Regions from separate parts of the Homo sapiens genome. Here all the other regions are linked to region 3. The links are contacts of gene promoters, found by promoter capture Hi-C in human tissues and cell types (Jung and others, 2019). All regions are on one chromosome and are shown on one strand. The core of a region is centred on a gene start or on the middle of the fragment in contact, and the rest is flanking DNA. Distances in the headings are between cores, read along the strand shown. Region 1 overlaps STK35 (serine/threonine kinase 35). Region 2 overlaps LOC124904859 (a long non-coding RNA gene). Region 3 holds the start of SNRPB (small nuclear ribonucleoprotein polypeptides B and B1). Region 4 overlaps PTPRA (protein tyrosine phosphatase receptor type A).

Evidence for each region. The method cuts DNA at HindIII sites, captures the fragments that hold promoters and counts their contacts. A contact is called where the count stands out against the background at its distance.
Region 1: a contact is called between a fragment that was not itself captured here and the fragment with the promoter of SNRPB in region 3, in 1 of the 25 tissues and cell types used here (lymphoblastoid cells).
Region 2: a contact is called between a fragment that was not itself captured here and the fragment with the promoter of SNRPB in region 3, in 2 of the 25 tissues and cell types used here (IMR-90 fibroblasts and lymphoblastoid cells).
Region 4: a contact is called between a fragment that was not itself captured here and the fragment with the promoter of SNRPB in region 3, in 1 of the 25 tissues and cell types used here (hippocampus).

What each region holds. Positions count from the first base shown.
Region 1 is chr20:2,119,597-2,122,625 of GRCh38, reverse strand. The region is part of intron 3 of STK35 (serine/threonine kinase 35); the gene reads right to left. LOC124900458 (a long non-coding RNA gene) reads right to left here. Exons shown (of 2, transcript XR_007067499.1): 1 at 1-3,029. Among named protein-coding and RNA genes, the nearest start is that of STK35, 19 kb to the right of the region's middle. The HindIII fragment of the contact is 6,505 bases long and covers 1-3,029 here.
Region 2 is chr20:2,173,361-2,176,902 of GRCh38, reverse strand. It overlaps LOC124904859 (a long non-coding RNA gene), which reads right to left. Exons shown (of 2, transcript XR_007067500.1): 1 at 3,493-3,542; 2 at 1-127. Among named protein-coding and RNA genes, the nearest start is that of LINC03086, 32 kb to the left of the region's middle. The HindIII fragment of the contact is 5,428 bases long and covers 1-3,542 here.
Region 3 is chr20:2,469,111-2,472,191 of GRCh38, reverse strand. SNRPB (small nuclear ribonucleoprotein polypeptides B and B1) reads left to right here and starts at 1,403. Exons shown (of 7, transcript NM_003091.4): 1 at 1,403-1,504. The coding sequence starts at 1,502. RefSeq lists enhancers at 1,394-1,443, 1,454-1,503, 1,664-1,783. The HindIII fragment of the contact is 7,557 bases long and covers 1-3,081 here.
Region 4 is chr20:2,887,372-2,890,554 of GRCh38, reverse strand. The region is part of intron 1 of PTPRA (protein tyrosine phosphatase receptor type A); the gene reads right to left. Among named protein-coding and RNA genes, the nearest start is that of PTPRA, 15 kb to the right of the region's middle. The HindIII fragment of the contact is 7,740 bases long and covers 1-3,183 here.

The sequences.
Region 1 (3,029 bases), core at 85-2,584, 350 kb after region 3:
AAAACTGCGGCCCTGATAAGTGGAATAATTTGCCTAAGGCCACACAGTCAGGAAAACGCAGATATGAGACTCCATCCCTGCATTGTTACTAGACACCACTTCTTTCAGGGGAATCCCAGGTTTCCAACCCAAAATGCATTTCCTTTTATTTTTGCAAAAAAACTGAAACTAGTTAGTCCTGACTTAAATGCGACTCTGAAATCTACAATCCTAAAACATTGAGGTGTTTTTTCATCTTGGTGGTATAGGGGTCAAGTGTGTTTACTTATGCAACTAGAGTTTTTTTGTTTTTTTGAGACAGAGTCCCTCTCTGGCGCCCAGGCTGGAGTGCAGTGGTGTGATCCTGGCTCACTGCAACCTCTGCCTCCCTGGTTCAAGCAATTCTCCTGCCTCAGTCTCCCAAGTACTGGGCCTATGGCATGTGCCACCACACCTGGCTAATTTTTGTATTTTTAGTAGAGACCAGGTTTCACCATGTTGCCCAGGCTGGTCTCAAACTCGTGAGCTCAAACAATCTGCCCCTACTTGGCTTCCCAAAGTGCTGGGATTACAAGGCATGAGCTACCACGCCCAGCCTATTTTAATTTTTAATAGTACAAACATCCACAGATATAACCCAAAACAAAAGCTCTTTGGAGTCCGTAAATTCAAAAATGTAAAGAGGCTTTCAGACAAAATACTTTGACAACTACTGGTCTATTCTTCCACTGTCTCCAATTCCTCTCCTCTTCCCCTCTCAAATCCACTCTAGTTACAGGTTTCCCCATTACTCCACCAAAATTGTTCATGAGTACTGATGCTTTCCCATTTACTAAATCCAATGATCAAGTCCTCTCAATCAACTAGCAGATGATGCCACGGCTGGCTCCCTCCTCCTCTTGATGTCTTTTCCCCTCTCTCTGGCTCCTTTCTTTCTTCCCATCCTCAATGTTGCACCACCTGGAGCTCAGTCCTCTGACCTCCTCTTGTCTATACCCACTCCAGTACTGTGGCAAATCTCTAAATTTGTATCTCTAGGCTGGACCCCTCCCTTGAACTCCAGACTCATCCAACTGCCTACTCTACATCTGTAGTTGGATTCTAAATAGGCATGCCAAACTTTCAGATAACTAAAACCTAACTTTGTCCTGCCAACCCTATTCCCCCAATGTCTTCCCCATCTTATTTAATGGCAGCTCTATTCTTCCCATCACTTAGGCTGACACCTTGAAGTGATGATTAATTCCTTTCTCTCACACCTCCCATATGATCCGGCCGGAAATCCTGCTGGCTCTGACTTCAAAAAAATACCCAAAATCCAATAATCACTTCTCTGTTACATTGTTTCAAGCCATCGTCATCTCTCACCTGGATTATTGCAACAGCCTCCCATCTTATCCCGTTATTTCAAGATGCAAAGTGATCCTTTCAAAAGAGCAGATATCACACAGCTGAAAACATCCCCATGGCTTTCCATCTCATCCAAAAACACAAGCCAAAATCTCTAGAGGCTTACGAGGCCTACTTGGCTCCTAGTTATCTATCTCTTCCTATACACTCCTTGCTCACTCTGGCCAACTTTCAGGACCTTCACAGTGGCCATTACTTCTGTCTGAGATGCTCTTTCCCCAGAAATCCTTGGGACTCACTCCCTCGACTCCTTCTAACATTCGCTCAAAGGTCACCGTCTCTGGGAGACCCACTCTGATATCTTCCATTTAAAAGTACATCCCCACCCCTCCCCACCACCCAAGCTTCAGATCTCCCCTACCCTGCTCTACTCTTCCCATCCTACCCTCTCACCGCACCCAGCACCGAGCACTTTCTTGTACATTACCTATGGGTACTGTCTTCCCAACAGAACGAATGTTAAGCTCCATACTGCAAAAACTTGTCTGTTTTGTTCACCGATGTATTATCTGTGTCTAAAATGGTACTTGGAAAGAGTTTCCAAAGAACATGTTGAATGAATAAATGAAATTAGCTTGTCCATCTACAAAACTTGGCAGGGGAAAGGGAGGTCAGACTCAATGTTCTTCCCAAGTCAAGCCTCAGATTCTCTGACCAGCCAGATACAGCTCTTCTACAGAAGCTGATTTGAAGTTTCTGGCAACACAGGGTTTGGCTCTGGTCACAGACCTGGGCCCAGGCCCACAATTCTAAGTGCCCACCTAAGACAGGGGAGGATAGGCTATGGTCAAATTGGCACCACCAGTACTGTAAAGATTAGCTGTAAGAGCCACAAAATGAATTAACAAAACAGCCTGGGACACTCACCAGTAACCATATTCCTAATCTTTTCCCCTCTTCTCAAGGTCGCCTATTTCTCCTACATGAAAGAATCACTCCAATTTAGCCAAAACTGCCCTGCAAAACAGCACAAATCTCAAGTGTGGATATCCACATGGAAGCCCTGATCTCAATTAGTTATGACAACCCCATAATCGTAACCTAAATTCAGGTCCCTCTTCCAATGACAACCTTCCTATGCCAGAGCAAATCTGAATTTTAAGAGGTCTTTCAAAAGCAGAAAGCATGAGATGGAAATGGGAAGTGACAGCACAAAATACATTTAAAACACTGTCTAGCCAACCCTTTTGGTTTCTAATATAGCACTACCCTAAACCTAGCTTTGGGGACTGCTGTTCTCCTACCCACGGGTGGTAGGCCCAATTGGTCCAGCACCTGGAACACACGTTTGTAGAATGAAAGAATTAAACCTAAGTGACTCACTCGAGAAATACATTCACTGAGAACACTACACATGAAACCAAGCTCAACTTGGAATGAGCCAACCCCACCTAGAAACCAGAGGATAATGAAGGGAAAGGGAGGGAACCCACCCAAGTGATGGAAAGCTCCGTGCCTTATGGCTCCTGAGGCTTCTTGTGACCACCAGGAGGATCAGCACTAGCTCCATCACCTCATCAAGACTTCAGCACAACGTAAGAGCAGCTTACTTCTAGCTCACCATATTAAGGGAAAAGGGGGTGGGGGATGCTTGAATAAGATATACCCATCCTTAACTTAGTAGGATCTGGGGTAAATTA
Region 2 (3,542 bases), core at 890-3,389, 300 kb after region 3:
CCTGCTAGAATCCCCAAGGTCAGACTGTTCCATTCTGGAGAATCCTGGAACACAGAGTGTTGGAGCCAGAAGGAAAGTTAGCTGTGGTCTCATCTGACCTCCTTCCCATGACAGATGGGAGCAGACCCTGCAGAGAAGAAATGAATTGCACAAGGTCACAAGGAGGGTTGGAGAACCCTGGGCTCCTGGCCCCTGCTCTGGGGCTCTGACTCCCAACCCCTGGCACCCCTTACTCCAGAGGATTTGAAAGGCACGTCACTCAAGGTCACAGGATGCCTCTGGCTTTTTACATAATTAAAGATGGGGGTCTCTCTATGTTGCCCAAGCTGGCTTCAAACTCCTGGGCTCAAGCAATCCTTCTGCCTCGGCCTCCAGAGCAGCTGCATGTAAATTACAGGTGAGCTCTACCATGCCTGGCCGCTTCCTTTGTTAATGAACGAAAACTCTAACTTAAAATGCTTTATACTGATGGTTTTCCAAGTGTGGTTCCCAGACCAGCTGGCATCAGCATCACCTTGTTAGAAAGGCCAGTTCTTGGCTTTACCTACTGAATCAGAAATTCTGGGGGTGGAGTTCAACCACCTGTGCTTTAACAGGTGATGTTAATGCCCACTCCAGTTTGAGATCCACTGCCTTAAGCAGTAAAGATGTCTATCATCACACAAATCAAGACGCCCAGGGTTGGTTATCTCAGTGGCCCAATGACTATAGGGTCCCAGGTTATGCCTGTCTTCCCATTCCTCCATCCTCAGTGTGTGGGCCTCTGACTTCAGGCTTGGACTCTCCCAATCACTAGGTGGCTGCTCCATCCACAGCTTCACCATGACTTCAAGAAGCAGAGGAGATGGACTCCCCGGACATCCCTTTTCATCAGTGAGAAAATCTTGCCTGGAAGTTCCCTAGCAGACATCCCCTCATATCTCATTGGCCAGAATTGGGCTGTGTTCCCTCCTCAAACCAATCACTGCCAAACCAATCACTGGGAAATGGAGTTATGATTAGTTAGGAGTAATCTTCAGCTACAGAGAGGAAATACAACCTAGTAACACAAAGGCACAGGTCCTTTGCAGCAACCTGGATGGAGCTGGATACCATTATTGTAAGTAAAGCAACTCAGGAATGGAAAACCAAACATTGTATCTTCTCACTGATAAGTGGGGGCTAAGCTGTGAGGACAGAAAGGGATAAGAATGATACAATGGACTATGGGGACTCGGGGAAGGGTGGGAGGGGTGAGGGACAAACGACTAACCACTGGGTACAGTATACGCTGCTCGGGTGATGGGTGCACCAAAATCTCAGAAATCACAACTAAAGAACTTCTTCATGTAACCAAATACCACCTGTTCCCCCAAAACTTTCAAAATAATAATAATAATAATAAAGCTGAAACAAAAAACACAGCTCCTGGAGCCCCTTCCTCTTCAAATCCTAGTTTTGCCATTTACTAGCTTCCTGACCTTCATCTAATTACTAAACCTGCTGGGTGTGGTGGCTCACGCCTGTAATTCCAACACTTTGGGAGGCCAAGGCAGGAGGACGGCTTAAGCCCAGGAGTTCAAGACCTGCTCTGGCAACATAGCAAGATCCCATATGTACAAAATATATATATATATGTTTTTTAATTAGCTAGGCATGGTGGTGCACACCTGTTTTTTAAAAAATTACTTAACCTGTGTGCCTCAGTTTTCACATCTGTAAAATGGACATAATAATATTTATCTCAGGAGTGTCAGGAGGACTAAGTGGATTCATATTTGTAAAGCACCTAAGACAATACTTGGCTATAGAAGAATTTGTTAAAGAAATATCATATGTAGTTCTTTATCTTGCTTTTTTGTAACTTAACTATGGGGCTTGGAGATCATCCAGTAACAATACAGAGGCCACTTCCTCATTCTCCTTTTTATTGTTATTATTGTTGTAGGATATTCCATTTCATGAGTGTATATAATTTATTCAATAATTGTTTTAATTTATTTGCAATTACAGAGTTGCAGCGGATAAGCTTGTCATGTTGTTTCATGTGTGTGAGTATCTATTGTAGGACAAAATCCTATAAATACAATTGCTGGGTTGAAGGATTTGTGAATTTGTAATTTGATAGACATTGCCACATTGCCTTCCATAGAACGTTACGCCAATTTACACTCCCACCAGCAGTGCATAAAGGTGCACGCCTCTCCACAGCCTCACCACCAGAGTAGTTACCATTTCACCACACCCCTCCACCCATGACAATCCGTGTGTGTTGTTGCCTTCAATTGCCCAGGAAGAAATAGACCCACGAGGAAAGACAACTTGGCTGAGACGGATCAGTGAGCTGCAGGAAGTCCCAGATGAGGACCCTCCTCAATCCCAGTACCACACTTCACAGTTTACAAAGCACTTCCCGTCCTACAGTAGACCATCCCTTGGGTCCCATACTGTGTACAGCAGCTCCCAGGATGCTCTCACTCCCAGCAGCCAGCACCTGTGTCTTTCAGAGGACAGTTCGTAGCCTGCTCGACCCAGCTTTGCCTGTACGTATGGAGAGCTGGAAGTGCCTGGAAAGGTATGTCCTCCAGAGGGGAATTTACTCCCTCTAATTACCAATGAGCACAGGAGTATGAATACCCCAGCTCCCTTGCCCCCCAAATGGGCCAACTCTGAGGTATGACTTATGCCACCTCCTTTGCAGGACAGACCTGGTGGGGCATGGTCTTGCTGGCCCTGCCTGCTTCCCCTTCCTCTAGCTGTTCCTGGAAATACTTCACACACAGTAAGTCATTTTCACAGGAATCCTTGGTTCAGGGTCAACTTCTGGAGATCCCAACCTAAGACACCTCCATGGTCTCCTTCATGCTTCCCTGTCATTGGACCCATTGTACAGATGAGAATACAGTGGCCAGTTAGAATTGACACAGCTACCAAGTGGCTGTGGTGGGGACTAGTACCTAGGACTTCTAGCTCCTCATCCATGTTCCTTCAAAGGAAGGACCGTAACTCCAGCCAGAGCTGAAAATGAAATCTGTCTCTTTTTTCTTCTCACCTCCTGAATGCAGTAAATTCATGAACACCTGCCCGTGTGTGCATCTCTCCATATGGTGTGTCCCTGGGCCTCTGCCTCTTCTCGTCTCCAAAGTGAGTATGCTGTCTGATACTAAAATCGGTTCAGTATTTCATGTGGGTCACATCCTACATGTTGAGTTTGACTATAATTGCGCCAGGCAGACCATAATACATTTATTTAACACTAACATACTTTAAATTCGGACCTCTTGCATGTTATTTGCATCTATTTGATTGGGGAGGGGAATGAACAGATACACCTCCTGCGTTGGTCAAGTTGGCCTCTCATGACCTAGGATGGGAGCTGAGGACCAACAGGCTTGCCCCTGTCCCAGGGTCTGTACTTAAATCAGTGGCTTAGTTGACTCCCACCCTGCTCTGTCTACATACAGGGCAGAAGCTAAGGCGCCTATGTGAGCCTTATGTTGCCCCAGGGCTCACCTTGCCTAGGACTGGGGTGATGCCTCCTCTGTGTCCAAATGTCCACTCCC
Region 3 (3,081 bases), core at 154-2,653:
TGGGTGACAACAATCATATTCAAGATAATTTGAAGGTGGGGGCCACAGGATTTGCTGATGAATTTGATTATTCGATGGCAGAGAAAGAGAAGAATGAAATATGCTTCAAATTTGTCATTTTCTTTTTTTTCTTTTTTAATCCAAGAAACTTCGGGGATGGGGAACACTGGTGAAGTGGTTTTAGAAACAGTGAATAGAATCAAGAATTCAGTTTTCAACATGTTAAATTTGGTATACCTATTAGACATTCACATCACGCTGGCAGCTGGATATAAAGGGCCAAGAGTTAAATGAAGAGACCAAGGTTAGAGGAACAAACTTGAAAGCCTTGGGTGTATATGCTGTATTTAAAAGTCATAGGAAGGGCCCAGTGTGATGGTTCACGCCTGTAATTCCAGCACTTTGGGAGGCCAAAGTGGGTGGATCAGGAGTTCGAGACCAGGAGTTGAGGTCAGGAGTTCGAGACCAGCCTGGCCAACATGGCAAAACCCCGTCTCTACTAAAAATACAAAAATTAGCCGAGTGTGGTGGCACAGGCCTGTATTCCCAGCTACTCGGGAGGCTGAGGCAGGAGAATCGCTTGAACCGGGGAGGCAGAGGTTGCAGTGAGCCGAGATTGTGCCACTGCACTCCAGCCTTGGTGACAGACTGAGACTCTGTCTCAAAAGAAAAAAAAAAGTCATAGAAAAAAAATAAATGTCATACGACTGGATGCGATTATCAGCAAATATGGGTAGAGCCCTTATTTTGTGCTAAAGTGTTCTAGGCACTACAGCAATGAGTAATACACAAAGAGAAAAATTCACACCCTTATGGATCTTACATTCTAATGGGGAGGGGATAATAAAATAACTAACAAAAATATACAGCGTGTTAGATAGCAAGAGGGAAATACAGGAGAGATGAGGATGAGGTGGGTGGGAAGGTTACAGGATGGCTAGGGAAATCCTCACTGGGAAAATGTTATTTAAGCTTAAACCTTGAAAGAGGTGAGGGCAGCAGCCTTCTGGTATACCTTGGGGACTACCATTCCAGGCAGAGGCGAAAGCAAATGCAGAGGGGCTGAAAAAGGAGCACGTCCAGCCAGTGGAGGGAAAAGCAAGAATAGTGACTGTAGAGGAGAGAGCCGGGGAGGGTGATGGGAAATGAGGACCGAGAGGTTAATGGGAAAGGCGGGGTGAAGAGAAATGAGTGTGACACAGAGCAGCTCTCAGTACGGATTTAAGCTAGGAAGGTGTCCAAACAGGAACTTAAGGCTCTCCTTACGTCAAAGCCGGATGTTAACGCCCAGTCCCCAGGCCCCGCCTCTGCTCGGCAGAAGCTCCGCTCCGGGGCCGGAACTCCAGGGCTAGTGAGCTGGACCGGAAGTAGGTTTCTACCCGACCGCATTTTACGTGGTGCTGCATTTCCGGTAGCGGCGGCGGGAAATCGGCTGTGGGAGAGAGGCTAGGCCTCTGAGGAGGCGAATCCGGCGGGTATCAGAGCCATCAGAACCGCCACCATGGTAAGGAGGGCACAGGCTGGCGGCGCGGGAGCTTCCGAGTCTGTTGTGGAGTGGGAACCGCGACTGATCGGGGAGGAAGCCGTGGGTTGGAGCCACTTAGGGCGGTGAAGGCCTGGGCCGAGGCCGCTCGGTCTGGGCGGGAAAGACCAGGACCTTGGCGGTTCGGCTAGGCATGGGGTCGAGGAAAAGGTTGGAACCGGTGTCGGAGGCCGAGGTCGCTCGGCAGGGGCGAGGGTAGAACCGCGGCTCTCGACACCGCTGTAGCCATAATTCCTGGGACCCAGTAGGCACTAAGTTAACTTTTGCCGAATAAATATATGTCCCGGGCTTCGGAGCAGGCACTGGAGCCGCAGGGGGACCCGGTAAAAGGCTCAGACTTGCGGAAGTTTGTGAGTCTGAGAAAGAGTTGGCGGAAGTGGGTGGAAGGGGCTCGTGGACCACGCTAGAGTCTCGCTAGGTCTGCTGGATGGAGAGGAGGGCGGAGGAGGGTGATGGCGAATGGAGGAAGAGCTCCACTCAGTTGCTCATCACGTTTCCGTGTTTGCCTGTGCCTGACTTCTCAGGCGCTGGGGCTACTCTCTGAAATATGTTTGCTTCCTTCACAGAGGTAGCTGGGGACACATAATATAATTCAGTGTGGTCATTCGGTAAAAGTAACGGCAGCGGGGCGGGGTAAGAATGTTTTCTCAAATAGATGGTTCCTGAGCAGATTCCTAAAAGATTAGCAAGAATGTTCCCGGCGAAAATGGGGGGAATATTACAGACCCGGAGAACTGAAGGAACAAAGGCTGAAGGGTAACAAGATTTAAAAAGTTACTGGATTTTTCTGCGTTTGTTGACTGAGAAAAAGTTGCTGGAGGAGAAAGGAAGAAAGAAGGGAAGACGGGAAGAATTGGCAGGAGGCTAGTTACTAAAGGCCTTGCATGTTAATTTTACCTCAGTGGTGGTGAGGCATGTCATTGAAGGATTTAATTTAATTTATTTTTATTTTTTTGAGACGGAGTTTTGCTTTTGTTGCCCAGGCTGGAGTGCGGTGGATCGATCAGGGTTCACTGCAAACTCCACCTCCCGGGTTCAAGCGATTCTCCTGCCTCAGCCTCCCAAGTAGCTGGGATTGTAGGTACCCGCCACCACACTTGGCTAATTTTTTGTATTTTTAGTAGAGACGGGGTTTCACCATGTTGGCCAGACTGGTCTCGAACTCCTGACCTCAGTTAATCCACCCACCTTGGCCTCCCAAAGTGCTGGGATTACAGCCGTGAGCCACCACACCCTGCCCACTGAAGGATTTTAACCAGCAAAATGACATAAGCTTAGTGGTGTTTAGAAAGATTGCTCTAGCTCTGGCATGTATATTCGATGGGACTGGAAGCAGGGAAACCTGGTAGGATATTGTTTGGATAACTGGTTAGAATAGGCGCTGGATTCATTTTGTCTAGGTTCCAACACAGCTTCCCAGCTGTGAAACTGGGCAAGTTACTTAACCTCTCCTAGCCTCAGTGACCTCATCTGTAAAATAGGGATAATAATGGGCCCAATTTTGGGGATTAAATGAGATGTACTGTGCTTATCACAGT
Region 4 (3,183 bases), core at 399-2,898, 420 kb before region 3:
CTAGGGAGGGAAGACAGAGAATCAAGATCATTATATTTTCTAACATTTATTAAAGATTTACTATGTGCTAAGAACTGTGCTAAGCATTTACCACGCACTATCTAATGCTTAAAACAAACAAATACATAGAGTACTACAGCTGAACCCATTTACTAGGTGACAAAAGTGAGTCTCAGAAGAGCTAACTATTTTGCCCAAGTTCACAAAAAGCATGGCAGGCATGGAATATGAACCCTAGTCTATCCAACACCCAAAATTAAAATAACTGTAGGGCCTGACAAGGAATATATAAAAGAAACACAAAATCCAATTTGACCAGGAAAAAAAAAATTGATTGAAGGGTTATTTTTGAAGAAAAGGCCAGGCATGGTGGCTTATGCCTGTAATCCCAGCACTTGGGCAGGCTGAGGCGGGAGGACTGTTTGAGGCCAGGAATTTGAGATCATCCTAGGCTCATAGTGAGGCCTCATCTCTACAAAAAAAAAAAAAAAATCAAAAAATTAGCTGGGCATGATGACGTACATCTGTGGTCCCAGCTACTTACTCAGGAGGCTGAGGCGGGAGGATCACTTGAGCCCAGGAGGTCAAGGCTGCAGTGAGCCATGATTGCACCACTGCACACCAGCATGGGCAACCTACCAAGATCCTGTCTCAAAAAAAGGTATGGGGGGTTGCAAAACAAACTCTGAACATGGATTCCCCCTTTGATGCCACATTCAGGACTCTTAACATAAGGAAAGGCACAGCATCTCTTGAGTAGAATTATCCTGGAAACACAGACCCCTTAGTTCCCTTTCCCAGTCTCAAATCTCTGACCAATAATAACTGTATCATGATTCTGTATTTTTAATCTGATAACCATGGCTTTCTGAGATGATAAAACTGTCCTCCTTAATTGGGTAAGTGGCATCACAATCCCAGAAAGAAAAGACATGAGCAATAAAATGAGGTATGGTATATCAAACTCATGGTACTAGTAGTACTTTTGCGTTAAGTTTAGGGTATGTGTTTTTTAAATGTTGGTAATTCAGATTCAGCTAATGAAAAGCACTGGAAGTCTTAACCAAAACCTGTTTTACTACATTTACAAATTTAATTTCTTAGTATCACAGATTGCCCAAGAGCTTAAGAAGTTTCTGTTTAAGGTGGTAACTCTGACCTGTCAAGGACTGACTGTGCCTGACAGACTGACTGTGTAAATGTATTTTAAACATCTAAGGAAATTTAATTCACTAAGTAAGGGGCCTGGAGCAATTAAATCTGTTAAATTTATATTAACTTAATTGACAAGCAGGTGAAAATTACTATTCTTATTTCTATACAAAATGCCTATGCTTACAAGTACAATAACAAGACTAAAAGAAAACTGGGTTTTAAATTTACCACTTTAATACATGTTAATTTAAAGCCCAAATAATTTTAAAATAGTCCTTCTGTATACAAAAGCCCTTTTCCCACATCAAAAAACTTACACATGTAACTGAGCTGCTCTATTAACCACTACTTGCTCAACAAAAGCCCTCTTCAAAGTAGAACCTTTGAAAACTTACCAAGTACAACTGGATAAGTATGGATGGTTTAAGTAATCTCTCCCACTAACATTGGGGAAACCGAATTGAGCTCCACTTAAGATCCCACCCAAAGGTAAGAACATCTCATCTCAATCTGCTATAACATTCACCCCTTTTGATAAACATAAAACTCTCCTATCTTCCCTTATTGTTACTTGAAATACCAAACTTAAGTAACTTACATTTTATGAGCATGTAGTATTTCAGCATGGTTTCACAAGTATTGCTCATAGTACTTGTGGATGCCTATGGAAAGGGAAAGCTGAAAGGCAGGGGGAGAGAAAACTACCTTTTACTATATATACTATATATACTTTTAGAACTATTAACATGGACACATATTATTCAAATATATACATAATTTTAAATTAAGCAAAATTTTGAGACAAACACTAACAAACCTTTTTTTTTTTTAAATGCTTTTTCTTTTTGAGACAGGGGTCTCACTCTGCTGCCCAGGCTGGAGTGCTGTGGTATGTTCACTGCAGCCTTGATCTCCTGGGCTTAAGCAATCCTCCCACCTCAGCCTCCCAAGTAGCTAGGACTATGGGTGCATGCCATTACACCTGGCTAGCTTTTATTTTTCTGTAGAAGCAGGGTCTCACTATGTTGCCCAGGCTGGTCTCGAACTCCTGGGCTCAAGTGATCCTCCCATGTTGGCCTCCGAAAGTGCTAGGATTACAGGTGTGAGCCACCACACCTAGCCTGAAAATGCATTTTCAAACTTACGTCTTCCCCACCATGTCAGTCATATTGAGAATCACTGATTTAGGGGTTCACAACTGCTGCTGATGGCACTACTGCTCACTGGGCATGAAATACAGGAAGAAAAGGGGTTTTCTTTGTCTTCCACCAGCTGGTAGCAAGAACCTAGCCCAGGTATAGTCTCCCTGAGCTTCTTCTATTTCTCATCCGTGTTTGAGGGCTTTGAGGGACCATTCTAGCTAACACCCCAAACTGGGGAGAGAGAAATACTGGCTGGAAATCACTGTGAAATCTGTCCCTGTTAACAAAGTGGGCAGGCCCAAGAGGTAAGAGGCACTGGAAGGCAGTGATCTCACAGACAGCGTGAGCAGAGGCACTGAGTCAGGGACATTCACATCACTGGGGACATGGGAACCAGGAGAGCAGAAGTATCCCCGTAAAAGCTTGGGCCTCCAGTTCCTTTTAGACAGTGAAAGTCCTGGAACTATCCCACACTGCTCTGGTAACAGTGCTGCTAACATTATCAAAGGAAGACATTCTCTTTACTAATGGTAGTATCAATGCATTTACAATATTGTAATAAGCCACTTGTCAACCAATATTTGAAAATTAGTTGCTCGTTAAGCTATTTGTCAATCAATATTTAAGAACTACTTGCACAATTCACAGGGGCCAGGTTTCAACTTCTTCCCACACACAAAAGCTCAGTTCATTAACTAGCAATCATCTCTTCCAAAAAGCCAGAAATCTAGAACCCTAATGCCTCTACTGCTTAAATCATACTTGTCCATGTATCTCCATCCCTATCACCACTCCTCCCACCCTAAGCCAATCCAGAACACCATCATCACTGGCCACATTTGCTCTAATAAACATCAAATAAGTCTCTATACCCTGCCCAGTCCGT